Regions from separate parts of the Homo sapiens genome. Here region 2 is linked to region 1. Evidence: promoter capture Hi-C in 16 types of primary human blood cells and fetal thymus (Javierre and others, 2016). All regions are on one chromosome and are shown on one strand. Each heading gives the region's core, a stretch centred on a gene start or on the middle of the fragment in contact. The rest is flanking DNA. Distances are from core to core; before and after follow the strand shown.

Region 1 (7,486 bases), core at 1,358-3,857:
CTGAAACTAAAAATCTAATCAACAAGAAGCTTGTTATCAGGAAGGAGATCAGCTTCAAGGTGAAAAATGAAATCCACATATCAAGAATTTGTTAGTGTGCCTCCAAGACTATATTTGGCAGAGGGAAACTTCTGATGGTTAGGGTGCTAACCAGTTTGGACATATAATGGTCTTTAACCCAACAAACATTTCTGCTTTCATAACCTGGGTTCCAATGTGCTAAAATAAAGAAGTGACTATATAGGTATCACTTTGTGAACTGTCAGGTACCCTAAGCAGTTGTATTTCTCTCTATAAACAAATCACCTGGCATTTGATCTGTATATCATCCTCCCATCAGTCTGACTGCTATACCCAAGTCCTAACCCACCAAGTGCCTTCTATGGACATCTGTTCATCTCTGTGAGCTCAGACAACAAAGTTCTGAACCTGCAAATATGCAGATCAAAACCTTGACTCCATGGCCGGGCTCAGTGGCTCACTCCTGCAATCCCGGCATTTTGGGAGGCCGAGGTGGGCAGAACACCTTAGGTCAGGAGTTCAAGACCAGCCTGGCTAACATGGCGAAGCCCCGTCTCTACTAAAATTACAAAAATTAGCCACACGTGGTGGCAGGTGCCTGTAATCCCAGCTACTCGGGAGACTGAGATGGGAGAATCGCTTGAACCTGGGAGGTGGAGGCTGCAGTGAACTGAGATCATGCCACTGCACTCCAGCCTGGGTGACAGGGAAAGACTCCATCTCAAAAAAACAAAAACAAAACTTGACTCCACACAAAGATACTGCGAGCCTCCCTCAGGTTAGGTGGTTCAGTTTCCATTCAATGACCATTTTAACCAGCTTCTAACCACAAGGGATCTGAACCTTTAGGGCAACATTCACTGGTCCAGCTCAACTAATGTTTACTGGGTGCTCACTGTGTATCTGGCACTGTGATAAGCACAGTACATCTCATTTAATCCCCAAAATTGGGCCCATTATTATCCCTATTTTACAGATGAGGTCACTGAGGCTAGGAGAGGTTAAGTAACTTGCCCAGTTTCACAGCTGGGAAGCTGTGTTGGAACCTAGACAAAATGAATCCAGCGCCTATTCTAACCAGTTATCCAAACAATATCCTACCAGGTTTCCCTGCTTCCAGTCCCATCGAATATACATGCCAGAGCTAGAGCAATCTTTCTAAACACCACTAAGCTTATGTCATTTTGCTGGTTAAAATCCTTCAGTGGGCAGGGTGTGGTGGCTCACGGCTGTAATCCCAGCACTTTGGGAGGCCAAGGTGGGTGGATTAACTGAGGTCAGGAGTTCGAGACCAGTCTGGCCAACATGGTGAAACCCCGTCTCTACTAAAAATACAAAAAATTAGCCAAGTGTGGTGGCGGGTACCTACAATCCCAGCTACTTGGGAGGCTGAGGCAGGAGAATCGCTTGAACCCGGGAGGTGGAGTTTGCAGTGAACCCTGATCGATCCACCGCACTCCAGCCTGGGCAACAAAAGCAAAACTCCGTCTCAAAAAAATAAAAATAAATTAAATTAAATCCTTCAATGACATGCCTCACCACCACTGAGGTAAAATTAACATGCAAGGCCTTTAGTAACTAGCCTCCTGCCAATTCTTCCCGTCTTCCCTTCTTTCTTCCTTTCTCCTCCAGCAACTTTTTCTCAGTCAACAAACGCAGAAAAATCCAGTAACTTTTTAAATCTTGTTACCCTTCAGCCTTTGTTCCTTCAGTTCTCCGGGTCTGTAATATTCCCCCCATTTTCGCCGGGAACATTCTTGCTAATCTTTTAGGAATCTGCTCAGGAACCATCTATTTGAGAAAACATTCTTACCCCGCCCCGCTGCCGTTACTTTTACCGAATGACCACACTGAATTATATTATGTGTCCCCAGCTACCTCTGTGAAGGAAGCAAACATATTTCAGAGAGTAGCCCCAGCGCCTGAGAAGTCAGGCACAGGCAAACACGGAAACGTGATGAGCAACTGAGTGGAGCTCTTCCTCCATTCGCCATCACCCTCCTCCGCCCTCCTCTCCATCCAGCAGACCTAGCGAGACTCTAGCGTGGTCCACGAGCCCCTTCCACCCACTTCCGCCAACTCTTTCTCAGACTCACAAACTTCCGCAAGTCTGAGCCTTTTACCGGGTCCCCCTGCGGCTCCAGTGCCTGCTCCGAAGCCCGGGACATATATTTATTCGGCAAAAGTTAACTTAGTGCCTACTGGGTCCCAGGAATTATGGCTACAGCGGTGTCGAGAGCCGCGGTTCTACCCTCGCCCCTGCCGAGCGACCTCGGCCTCCGACACCGGTTCCAACCTTTTCCTCGACCCCATGCCTAGCCGAACCGCCAAGGTCCTGGTCTTTCCCGCCCAGACCGAGCGGCCTCGGCCCAGGCCTTCACCGCCCTAAGTGGCTCCAACCCACGGCTTCCTCCCCGATCAGTCGCGGTTCCCACTCCACAACAGACTCGGAAGCTCCCGCGCCGCCAGCCTGTGCCCTCCTTACCATGGTGGCGGTTCTGATGGCTCTGATACCCGCCGGATTCGCCTCCTCAGAGGCCTAGCCTCTCTCCCACAGCCGATTTCCCGCCGCCGCTACCGGAAATGCAGCACCACGTAAAATGCGGTCGGGTAGAAACCTACTTCCGGTCCAGCTCACTAGCCCTGGAGTTCCGGCCCCGGAGCGGAGCTTCTGCCGAGCAGAGGCGGGGCCTGGGGACTGGGCGTTAACATCCGGCTTTGACGTAAGGAGAGCCTTAAGTTCCTGTTTGGACACCTTCCTAGCTTAAATCCGTACTGAGAGCTGCTCTGTGTCACACTCATTTCTCTTCACCCCGCCTTTCCCATTAACCTCTCGGTCCTCATTTCCCATCACCCTCCCCGGCTCTCTCCTCTACAGTCACTATTCTTGCTTTTCCCTCCACTGGCTGGACGTGCTCCTTTTTCAGCCCCTCTGCATTTGCTTTCGCCTCTGCCTGGAATGGTAGTCCCCAAGGTATACCAGAAGGCTGCTGCCCTCACCTCTTTCAAGGTTTAAGCTTAAATAACATTTTCCCAGTGAGGATTTCCCTAGCCATCCTGTAACCTTCCCACCCACCTCATCCTCATCTCTCCTGTATTTCCCTCTTGCTATCTAACACGCTGTATATTTTTGTTAGTTATTTTATTATCCCCTCCCCATTAGAATGTAAGATCCATAAGGGTGTGAATTTTTCTCTTTGTGTATTACTCATTGCTGTAGTGCCTAGAACACTTTAGCACAAAATAAGGGCTCTACCCATATTTGCTGATAATCGCATCCAGTCGTATGACATTTATTTTTTTTCTATGACTTTTTTTTTTCTTTTGAGACAGAGTCTCAGTCTGTCACCAAGGCTGGAGTGCAGTGGCACAATCTCGGCTCACTGCAACCTCTGCCTCCCCGGTTCAAGCGATTCTCCTGCCTCAGCCTCCCGAGTAGCTGGGAATACAGGCCTGTGCCACCACACTCGGCTAATTTTTGTATTTTTAGTAGAGACGGGGTTTTGCCATGTTGGCCAGGCTGGTCTCGAACTCCTGACCTCAACTCCTGGTCTCGAACTCCTGATCCACCCACTTTGGCCTCCCAAAGTGCTGGAATTACAGGCGTGAACCATCACACTGGGCCCTTCCTATGACTTTTAAATACAGCATATACACCCAAGGCTTTCAAGTTTGTTCCTCTAACCTTGGTCTCTTCATTTAACTCTTGGCCCTTTATATCCAGCTGCCAGCGTGATGTGAATGTCTAATAGGTATACCAAATTTAACATGTTGAAAACTGAATTCTTGATTCTATTCACTGTTTCTAAAACCACTTCACCAGTGTTCCCCATCCCCGAAGTTTCTTGGATTAAAAAAGAAAAAAAAGAAAATGACAAATTTGAAGCATATTTCATTCTTCTCTTTCTCTGCCATCGAATAATCAAATTCATCAGCAAATCCTGTGGCCCCCACCTTCAAATTATCTTGAATATGATTGTTGTCACCCACTCCATTGCGTCCACTCTAGTCATAGCCACCATCGTCTCTGTCTTGGATCATTGAACGAGCCCGTAACTTGTCTCTTTGCTTCCTTTCTTGTTCTCACGGCAGCCAGAGGGATCCTTCTAAACGTACTGGGATATCAGATGATGTCATGTCCTGGTCTCCACTTACCAAAAACTTCCCAGCACACATGGAATAAAATCTAGCTCTGCGCTCCTCTCCAACCTCATTCATCTCCGTCAACATTGCCCTCATTCATCCTTCTCCAGTCACACTAATCTCCTTGCTGTTCCTCAAACCCAGCAAGGAGAGCTTCCACCTTGGTGCTTTGCCATCTTCACACCATCTCTAAAGGGTGTGTTCTGTTGTCCCGTTTCCTGTCACCTGTAGATGAAGAGGCGAAGCCTCATAGAAATGAATTATGTTGCCCAAAGTGGCGGAGTCAGAGTGGGAATATAGGTCCGTCTGGCTCCTCAGCTGTTCATTTGCCCCCACCTTACCCAGCTGCCTAACACTTCATTCATGCATGCATTTAAAATCATTTTTATTTAGCATCTACTAAGGCCATGCACCATTATTGGGATAGAGTCCTTTCCCTCACGGAGCTTTACATCCTACTGAGAAAGACATAGTAAACCAAATAAATAAGTATGCAATGTAACATTAGAGTGATATGAAAAAAATAAATAAAGGCAGAGGAACTGAGAGGGATAGGGTACAGTTTTGGCTAGGTGGTCAGGGGAAACTTCTCTGAGGAGTGGTATGTGAGCAGAGACCTGAACCTACACTCAGGTCTATCAGAAGGATGAATATTATGAAGGACATTCTAGAAAATGTATATAAAGGGAATCATATAATAATACGTGGTCTTTTGTGACTACCTTCTTTCACTTAGCACAATGTTTTTAAGGCTCATCCATGTCATGACACGTATCAATACTCCATTCCTTTTTATGGCCAAATAACATTCCATTGTATGGATGTACAGTAGTCCCCCCATATCCATCTTTCACTTTCTGTGGTTTCAGTTACCCACAATCAACTGCAGTATAAAAATAGGTGAGTACAGTACAAGATATTTTGAGACCACATTCATATAACTTTTATTACAGTATATTTTTATAACTGTTCTATTAGTATTGTTAATCTCTTACTGTACCTAATTTATAAATTAAACTTTATCATAGCTATGTATGTATAAGAGAAAATAGTATATATAGGGTTTGGTAGTATCTGCCGTTCCATGAATCCACTGGTGATCTTGGAATATAACCTCCTCAGATAAGGAGGGAACTACCATATTTTATCAGTTCATCAAATGACGAACATTTGGATTGCTTCCACCTTTTGGCTGTTATAAATAATGCTGCTGTAAACATCGTGTACAAGTCTTCACGTGGACATGCTTTCATTCCTCTTTGGTATCCAGATAGGAGTGGAATTTCTGAGTCATATGATAATTCTGATTAACCATTTGAAGAACTGCCAGACTGTTTTCCAAAGTGGCTTCACCATGATACATTCCCACAAGTGGCGTATGAGGGTTCTGATTTCTCCACATCTTCACCCATATTTGTTATTATCTGACTTTTTGATTCAAGCCATCTTAATGTGAAGTGCTATCAATTTCATCGTGGTTTTGATTTGCATTTCCCTCATGACTAATGATGTTGAACATCTTTTCATGTGCTTGTTGGCCATTTATATATCATCCTTGGAGAAATGCCCATTCAGATCCTTTTCTCATTTTTTAATTGGACCATTTGACTTTTATTATTGAGTTGTAAGAATTCTTTCTACATTACAGATACAAGTTCCTTGTCAGATATATGATTTATACAGGTTTTCTCCCATTCTGTGAGTTTTTTTTTTTTTTTTTTTTTTTGAGACAGAGTCTCACCCCATCACCCAGGCTGCAGTGCAGTGGTGCGATCACAGCTCACTGCAGCCTGACCTCCAATGCTCAAGCGATTCTCCCACCTCAGCCTTCCGAGTAGCTGGGACTACAGATGCATGCCACCACGGTGGCTAATTTTTGTTATTTTTTTTTTTTTTTGTAGAGACAGGGTTTCACCACGTTGCCCAAGCTGGATTCAAGCAATCCACCCACTTCAGCCTCCCAAACTGCTGGGATTACGGGCATGAGCCACCATGCCTGGCCTTTTCACTTTCTTGGTAATATCCTGTACAAAAGTTTTTTAATTTGGATGAAGTCTAATTTATCTTTTTGTTGTTGTTGTTGCTCATGTTTTTGGTGCAATAAGAAAAATCTTTTCTGCCAAATCTAAGATTATGAAGATTTACCCCTTTGTTTTCTTCTAATAGTTTTATAGTTTTAGCTCTTACATTTAGATTTTTGATATATTTTTAGTTCATATTTTATATATGGTATAAGGTAGGGTCAAACTGTATTCTTTTCTAAGTAGATATACAGTTAGCTCAGCATCATTTGTTAAAAAGACTCTTCTTTCCCCCACTGAATAATCTTGGCACCCTAGTGGAAAATCATTTGACCATTGACACATGGTTTTATTTCTGGACTTCCAATTCTATTCCTTTGATCTATATGAAGTCAGAAAAAGTGTGAATCCTCCTCCTTTTTCTTTTTCAAGGTTGTTTTGGCTATTCTAGATGCCTTGCAACTCAATTAGTTTGCCAATCTACAAATAAGGGAAAAGAGGTCATGAATTCAGAGCCGGGGATTAAACAGGCAATTCATCTGGTATTTACTTGATAAAATGGTCCCAAGTTTCAGTCTAGATCAGGGGCGGGCAAACTTTTTTAAAATATGTATAAGACTGGTTAGTTTCCAATATTTTTTTTGTTAAGGGCAGAGAGCATTTTAGGGCTATCGAGCCATTTGGTCTCTGTTGCAATTACTCAACTTTACCATGTACCATGGAAGCAGCTATACTCAATACCTAGCAAATGAGTGTGGCTGGGTTCCAATAAAATGTTATTTATGGATACAAATAGATGTCACAAAATATTATTATCCTTTAAATTCTTTGCGACCATTTAAAATGTAAAGACCATTTACATTTTGTGTAAATGTAAATGTAAAGACCATTTACATTTTGTGTGGCTCAAGGCCACACAAAAACATGTGATCAGCAAGGATTGGCATTTAGGCTGTAGTTTGCCAACCTCTGATGTAGACCATTAGATTTCTGTGTCTAGATTCAGGGTCACAGCCCCAGCTGAGTATTCATAATTAATAGTTTTGACTTGCATTATTTATTTGGCTTATCTCTGGGCTCACCAAATATATGCAGTCAAAATTCATGTCTTTTCCCTCATTTTAAAAACACACACATATACCTTCACACTTGTATCAATCTACGTTCGACAGGGAGACAGAAACCATACAGTAATTTAAATTAAAGAATTATTTTGCCAGGGATGGTGGCTCATGCCTTTAATCCCAGCACTTTGGGAGGCTGAGGCAGGCGGATCACCTGAGGTCAGGAGTTCAAGGCCA
Region 2 (7,486 bases), core at 4,940-7,439, 260 kb before region 1:
ACAATCTCGGCTCACTGCAACCTCCGCCTCCCAGGTTCAAGCAATTCTTCTGCCTCAGCCTCCCTAGTAGCTGGGATTACAGGTGCGCGCCACTACACCCGGCTAATTTCTGTATTTTTAGTAGAAATGGGGTTTCACCCTGTTGGCCTGGCTGGTCTTGAACTCCTGACCTCAAGTAATGCTCCTGCCTTGGCCTCCCAAAGTGCTGGGATTACAAACATGGGCCACCACACCCGGCCAAATTCAAGTAAAAATTTTAATTTGACTTATTGTTAAACTGATGATACGACTATTTAGAGTCGTAGGATTCAAAACTCAAAAGCACCAAAGGCAGAGAGTCTCCCTCCCACCCTATCCCCTTACTGTCCAGATCTTCTCCCTGGAAGCCATTTAGGTACAAGGTTCTTGTGTTTTCTTACAGAGATGTTATACACATACAAAATCAAACGTGCACACACATGCATCCTCCCTTTTTCTTTTACAAATGGTAGCATAATATTCACACTCTGTTTTTTTGAATTCTTGTCTTGGAGAGCATTTGTGGCGGTATTGGTAGAGTGTTTGCATGGTCATTTGTTTGTCTTGACTGCATGGTATTGCATTGCATAAGGTACTGTTATTTATTTACCCAGTTCCCTATTGGGAACCATTTAGGTTATTTCACTTGAAGGTTTTAAGGTAACATTCTGATTTATATTTTAGAAAAATCTCTCTGGCTGCTGCCAGGAGGCTGCTGTGTAGGAGACTGAGCATGGAAGCCCCAGCCCAGCCCTGCCCAGTTAGGAAGCAACTATTGTATTCAGCAAACCCTGCTGGCTCTAACGAGAAGTATCATCCCGAGTGCATCACCATCACTTCTCACCTCCATGGCCTCTCATTATGCACTCTCTGCCTCTACTCTTGCCTTCCTGGAGCCGTTCTCCAGCCGTTAGCCAAATGGGTCTTTTCAAAGGTGAGTCAGCTCATGCCACTTCCCTGTTGAAAACGTCAATGTTTTCCCATCACAGCTCAGGTAATATTAAAATTATTTCCTGTGGCTTCCGACTACCGCCCGACCTCACTGGCGCCTCTCTCCCAGGTTCCCTGTGCTCCAGCCCCTCATCACCTGGGATGGGGTTGTCTGCACCGCTGTCCTTGTGCCTGATGTCCCCACACGCTCGCTCCTCCTCCACCTTCCGGTAGTCCCAGCTTGAAAGTTCTGACCTCATCCCCTTCCCCAACACACCCCTACTCCCTGTCACATCACTCGAATCTGCTGCCTACAATTGGTGGGAGTGAAACCACTTAGTTTGCCAACTTTGAAGGAATCCTGTGAAATGCTCAGGTAACTGGCACCAATTTCCCATTTGTTCCCTTGACATTTCAGTGCTGCTTATGGATTAGTGCTTTGGGCAGCTGCACAGATAACCCACCTTTTGATCTGGGTCCGCTTGGCACAAGATACAATAAATGTCATGATAAATGTCAGCCAGGATTACAATGCTTCCTTCACAAACCTTAGCACAGACGGTTTCAATAAAGATTGCTTGATTAACTTTTTTCTTCTAATTCAATGCCATTTTAATCATGTGCCTACTTTTTGCTTAAAAGGCCTGTGAATTTCATTCTGACAAATAAAATTATTTTCCAAAAATGTACACAATTGCTTTGGCGATGTTCAATTTTCATTTCTTTGCTTGGTAACAGTGCTTAGCATTTAGCTGAGACTTCTTTATGGAAACTCTGCCTCCAGGAGAAGTAGCTAAAAGTCTGAAAAGTAATATTTGATGTATCATAAGGGGATAGTTATTAAATTCTTTTATTAAATTTAAGTTTTTATAAAACAGAACATCTTCAATGTGGAAGAGCTACATAGAATCACACTGAATGACTTTAAAGACATTTATTTCAAAGACTGCCATGTATCACACTGGTTAACAGTCACTCTGGATACAATTTTCTTTAAAGAGACCACTTCATTCCACTACAGCCACTTCAACTGCTTCCTCAATGGCTTAGAGAGGTCCAGGGGTTTTAGAGAGTCAGTGGGAAGTCATCCTAGAGATCATCAAAGTCTATCTTCCTCCTTTCTCAGAAAACAAATACCTGATAGTGTTGGTGCTTCCTTTCTCGGAACAATTGTGTTCCCTGAATCATACACAGTGGATGTTTTATACACAAAATTGTATTCTGATTGCATATACATACTATGCTAATGAATCACCCTCCAATCCATTTGTAGAGTGCTCTATCTGTAGAGTTATAGAAATATCAGTGTTCGCTCAAGATGGTCCATTGGGATGAGAAAATATTAGGACTTATATTCATGGTTATGTTTATTTGAAACTAGGAGAGATACTAAGTTTTACTAGTGTTTGCTACATGGCCTGACCCCAAAGGCCACACTGGGTCATGTGTCATGGGTGGTAAGCATGGGGGCGTCAGAGTGGTAGCCCGTGGCTCTTTCACTGACTTCTTGGCCTTCGGTGTATTACCATGTGTTACAGTTTCCCTGCTAGAGGAGGTTATCAACTCATCAACAGGGCTCATTTGGCAAAACCGAGACCCCTAAATGATATGATTTTTACAATACTTTAAAAATTGGCTGTATCTGTTTCCAGATTTTTTTCCCCTAAGCATCTACTAACAAATAGTTATATGTATTAGAAAACAAAAAGAGAGCCGGGCACAGTGGCTCACACCTATAATCCCAGCACTTTGGGAGGCCGAGGTGCACAGATCACTTGAGGCCAGGAGTTCAAGACCAGCCTGGCCAACATGGCAAAATCCCATCTGTATAAAAAATACATAAATTAGCTGGGCGTGGTAGCATGCGCCTGTAGTCCCAGCTACTTGGGAGGCTGAGGTAAGAGGATCGCTTGAGCCCAGGTGATTGAGGCTGCAGTGAGCCATGATCACACCACTGCACTCGAGCCTGGGAGTCAGAATGAGACCTTGTCTAAAAAAACAAAAACAAACTCAAAAAACAAAAAAAGCTTCATAATCTACATACACCTCTTTTCTTCACTCAGCCATATGGTTTGGGCATCTTTTCATGTCACTATATTTAGCTCTACCTCATTTTTCCCTACCTTATTCTTTTAAATATTTGCATAGAGTTCCGCAGTCATCCCTCTCATTACAAGGTTAGTTTGTTCCTAAGAAAATTCATAGGGTGAATTTTCATAAACGGAAAAGATAATTACTATTTCAACCGATGGTACACAGTTACTGCACAATTTCAGAAACAAAATACACACATGATTCTCAAAGTCATAAAAATTTTTTTAAAAAGCAGTATAAGAGAGACAAAGGAAACAATGCAAGTGATGCCTGAGTCTGTTACTTACAACCCGCACCAACTATGTCACCATAGAGAAGACCATGTGGAGGCTGCTCCAGAGGCTCAATAGCAGTCTTTGCTAATGCAGTGAAATCCTCACAAGCCAAAGAAAAGAAATTTAATGGAAATTAAACTCCTTTTAAAGTCAAAGTCTTGAACTTGCATGGGCATATTTTAGGGTAAGACTCTTTCCCATAGTATGGATGCATTATAATTTATTTCCCAACTGTTCATTATATGGACATCTGGGTTCATATTAATCTGCCAGGACTCCCATAACAAAATACCACAGACTGAGTGGCTTAAACAACAGAAATGTATTTTCTGACAGTTTCAGAAGCTGGAAATCCAAAATCAAGGTGTTGGCAGCTTGGTTTCTCCTGAGGCCTCTCTCCTTGGCTTGCAGATGGCAATCTTTTCAGTGTATCCCCACATGGTCTTTCCTCTGTGTGTGCACCCTGGGTGTCTCTCTTCTTAGAAGGATACTAGTCATATTGGATGAGGTCAATATGAGGTCATTACCCATATGACCTCATTCAACCTTAATTACCTCTTTAAAGACCTTATCTCCAAATATAGTGGCATTCAAAATCATTAGGAGTTAAGATGAATTTTGGGGTGCACAATTCAGTCCATAACTCAGTTGTTTCTCATATTTTTCACCGATATTCCTCACCTCACACACTCCTCAATCCATTCTAATCTCATTTCCACCCTCAGTGCTCCAATGGATATTTCCCTCCTCTGAGTGCTACCTGGTCAATTGTGATTGTTGCTCCCGTAAACAACTACAGTGTTCTCCTTCTTATTGGTTCCATGATGTTTATCATCCCCCCTGCCGCCGCCCAATCCATTCTCCCATAGACATAGTAAAATGCATTTGTAATCTAATCACCCCACCCCTTATCTTGATACTCTTCCCTGACTTCTTGCTTTTGAATTAAGACGCAAACAACTTAGGATGGTGGACAAGCCCTTGCAGGATCAGATATCGGTCCACCTCATTCATACTCCAACAGCCTCCTCCAACCCACTTCATTCCAGCCACACTGGCTTGCTTTCATCCCATGAGAAAGGTCAAGTCTTTTCCCACTTCAGGGCATGAATTGTGTCCTCTGCCAAGAACAACCTCCTCTTTGTCTGTCTCATCCTTCACACAGATTAAAAGTGAGTTTCTCAGTGAAGCTCTCCTTGACCCCCACTTGTCAGGTTACCATTGTCCCAGGCTCCCACAGAATTCTGGATTTTCTCTGCAGTGGTTATTACACATTGCAGTCACTGGAGCGATTGTTTCATATGCATCTCCCCCACCAGACCAAGAGCTTCTGGAGAGCAGGGGCCACATGGAAGATGCTCATTCCTGCATCCCCAATGCTCAGCCCAATTCCTGGCACAAAGTAAGTACTCGATAAATATTTAATGAATAAATAAACTCGTTGCATTTGGCTGTTTCCTCCATTTGGAAGGCCCTTTTCATTCTCATCCATCTGGCACGTTGAGGCCAGCCAGCTCCTATATCGCTCTGATTAGACTGTGAATTACTTTCATGGCAGGACCTGTGTTCCCAGTGCCTGGTAAAGGGCATGGCGCACACAGCAAGCCTGCCGGTTGAAGCAGATCATTTTTACTTTGCTGCGTATCCAGGTCCTACATCACTGCCCTACTGAAGGTTCTTGAGTCAAGAAGCAGATGAAAAAATTATCAACCTTCTGTCTGATTCATAATGACTATCACCGGTAGTCATTTATTTTGTATGATTTGTCTATAAATCATACAAAATAAAACTGACAATGGTTAAGATGGCACCTGTGAAATTTGTTATGAACTCAGAAGACTCACATCTTAAAGGTAACACTGGAAATTACAAGAAGCAAAGGAAATCAGATCTGGTTGAAATAATCAATGCAAACTAAAACAGACTGCCCACGTAAAATTTGCTCCTTACTAAACATTTGTAGAGGACTGCCATTGACAGATTTTTGGACCCACAAAATTTTGCCAAAGGAAATGGAACTATGGCGGCTGGGCATGGTGGCTCATGCCTGTAATCCCAGCACTTTGGGAGGCCAAGGCAGGCAGATCCCTTGAGCCCAGGAGTTCGAGACCAGCCTGGGCAACATAGTGAAAGCCTGTCTCCAAAAATGAAAATCAACCAGGCGTGGTGGTGCATGCCAGTAGTCCCAGCTAGTTGGGAGGCTGAGGTGGGAAGATTGCTTGAGCCTGAAGGTTGACGCTGCAGTGAGCCCTGATGGCGCCACTGCACTCCAGCTTGGGCAAGAGGGTGAGACCGTGTCTCAGAAAGAAAAGAAAATAGAACTTGCTAGTGTCAATGCCTTTTAGCCAAAGACCACCAGGACACACCTATAGTTGAACAAGTTGGGTTGCACTGAGGGAGAGTACATACCATGACAGAACTATGGGGGGGTATCTTCGAAAAGAGGTGTTATAAAGAACCTATTACTGGATTTGAGCTTTTATGGGTAATTTAAGGAGGGCCTATGGAAGTTGGATTCGCCCTAGATTGGAAGTGGTCAGGAAGCAGGAGCCAATTCCATGATTGGGTATCTCAATAAATCTAATCTATAGAGAAGGCAAACTAGAAGAAAGATAAAACTGTAATTAGTTAGCAGGGGGCCGGGCACGGTGGCTCACGCCTGTAATCCCAGCACTTTGGGAGGCTGAGGCAGGCAGATCACGAGGTCAGGAAATCGAGACCATCCTGGCTAACACAGTGAAACCCCATCTCTACTAAAAATACAAAAAATTAGCTGGGCGTGGTGGCGGGCTCCTGTAGTCCCAGCTACTTGGGAGTCTGAGGCAGGAGAATGGCATGAACCTGGGAGGCGGAGCTTGCAGTGAGCCGAGATCCTGCCACTGCACTCCAGCCTGGGCGACAGAGCGAGACTCTGACTCAAAAAAAAAAAAAAAAAAAAAGAGAGAGAAAAAAAAAAGAAGTAGCAGTCACTCATTTTCTCCAAGACGGGTGTTTGGTATTTTGTGAGTGGCACAGTGACTGTGTTTTTGTCTGTGCTTAGACAAAATTTCAAAGTAGATTTGCTATGTCTCACTTTATCAGGCTCTCTGTAACCATATCTGAGGTTGTTATTTTGTGACGCTACGTACAATAGGAGGATAACATGGTGGACCTGTGATGCCAGGCTAGCTTCTGAATGTCGGGGTTCCCTTTTTTTTTTCTTTTTCAATAAAATAAGCATGAAATACAAAATATCACAATGATGGAAACCAAAGTAAAATTCGACATACAAATTTTAAAGAAGTAAAATCTTTATCATGAAATTTATATGTAAAAGAATCACTCAGTAAAGACAATTTCCATAAAATAAAAATGGATATGGATACTATTTAACTATGTTGTATTAAAAAAAACTGATCAAAGAATTGGTTTAATGGAAAATGCTCTGGAAAATTCTTTTGCAACAGTTCATCGCTGTTGATATAATCCTAATTAAAATTATCGGACTCCAGTTTTGGTGGAGATGTAAATTTGCTAGTGTCTTTGAAGAGCAATTTAGTCATATTCATGAAAATTAAAATTGCATGTGGCCTTTGACATAGAAATTTTACTTCTGGAAATTTACAGAGAAAGTTGCACGTGTGCACGTACATACAAGGATATTACCACTCCACTCTAGTATTTTTTGTAGTAACGAAGATTGAACAAACATTAATGTCCTCCAGTAAGAAGCTGATTAAAATTCAGTATGAGACATCCATTGTACCCAAAGCTAGGTGGCCTTAAGAAGGTCAGTGTCGCTCAGCGACAGGGCTCGGCCCCCCCTCGTGCAAACCCACCCCGAGGTGTGAGGCCAGGAGTGTGCGGTCACGAGGCGCCCGGGAAGTGTGTCCAATGCCCGAAGCAGCCCCCACCCGGGCGGTCCTGAGTCCGGGTCGCGCTCTGGTGTATCTCTTTTGACGTCTGCTACCCACAGCCTGGGGCAGGAGAGTGGCGACGGCGAGGAGCAACTGCACGCGACTTGGGACCTTGCCCTGCCCCGCGGCCCGCGTCACCATGGCAACTGCAGGCAGCCAGCACCGACGGCGGGAAAACGAGGACCGGAGCCGCGTTACAGCCTTGGCCTTCGAGCAGCCCAGGGAGAGTCTCTGCGTCCTCCAGCCCCCGCTTCCCTTCATGTCGGAGGTCCT

What was found. The method cuts DNA at HindIII sites, captures the fragments that hold promoters and counts their contacts. A CHiCAGO score of 5 or more calls a contact.
Region 2: a contact is called between a fragment that was not itself captured here and the fragment with the promoter of SNRPB in region 1, in 1 of 17 cell types (monocytes). The highest score is 5.2, in monocytes.

The regions. Positions count from the first base shown.
Region 1 is chr20:2,468,182-2,475,667 of GRCh38, forward strand. SNRPB (small nuclear ribonucleoprotein polypeptides B and B1) reads right to left here and starts at 2,608. Exons shown (of 7, transcript NM_003091.4): 1 at 2,507-2,608. The coding sequence starts at 2,509. RefSeq lists enhancers at 2,228-2,347, 2,508-2,557, 2,568-2,617. The HindIII fragment of the contact is 1,844 bases long and covers 1,193-3,036 here.
Region 2 is chr20:2,199,793-2,207,278 of GRCh38, forward strand. It overlaps LINC03086 (long intergenic non-protein coding RNA 3086), which reads left to right and starts at 7,136. Exons shown (of 2, transcript NR_161305.1): 1 at 7,136-7,486. LOC105372502 (a long non-coding RNA gene) reads left to right here. Exons shown (of 3, transcript XR_937202.3): 2 at 703-952; 3 at 1,079-1,633. RefSeq lists enhancers at 7,227-7,486, 7,410-7,486. The HindIII fragment of the contact is 6,433 bases long and covers 2,974-7,486 here.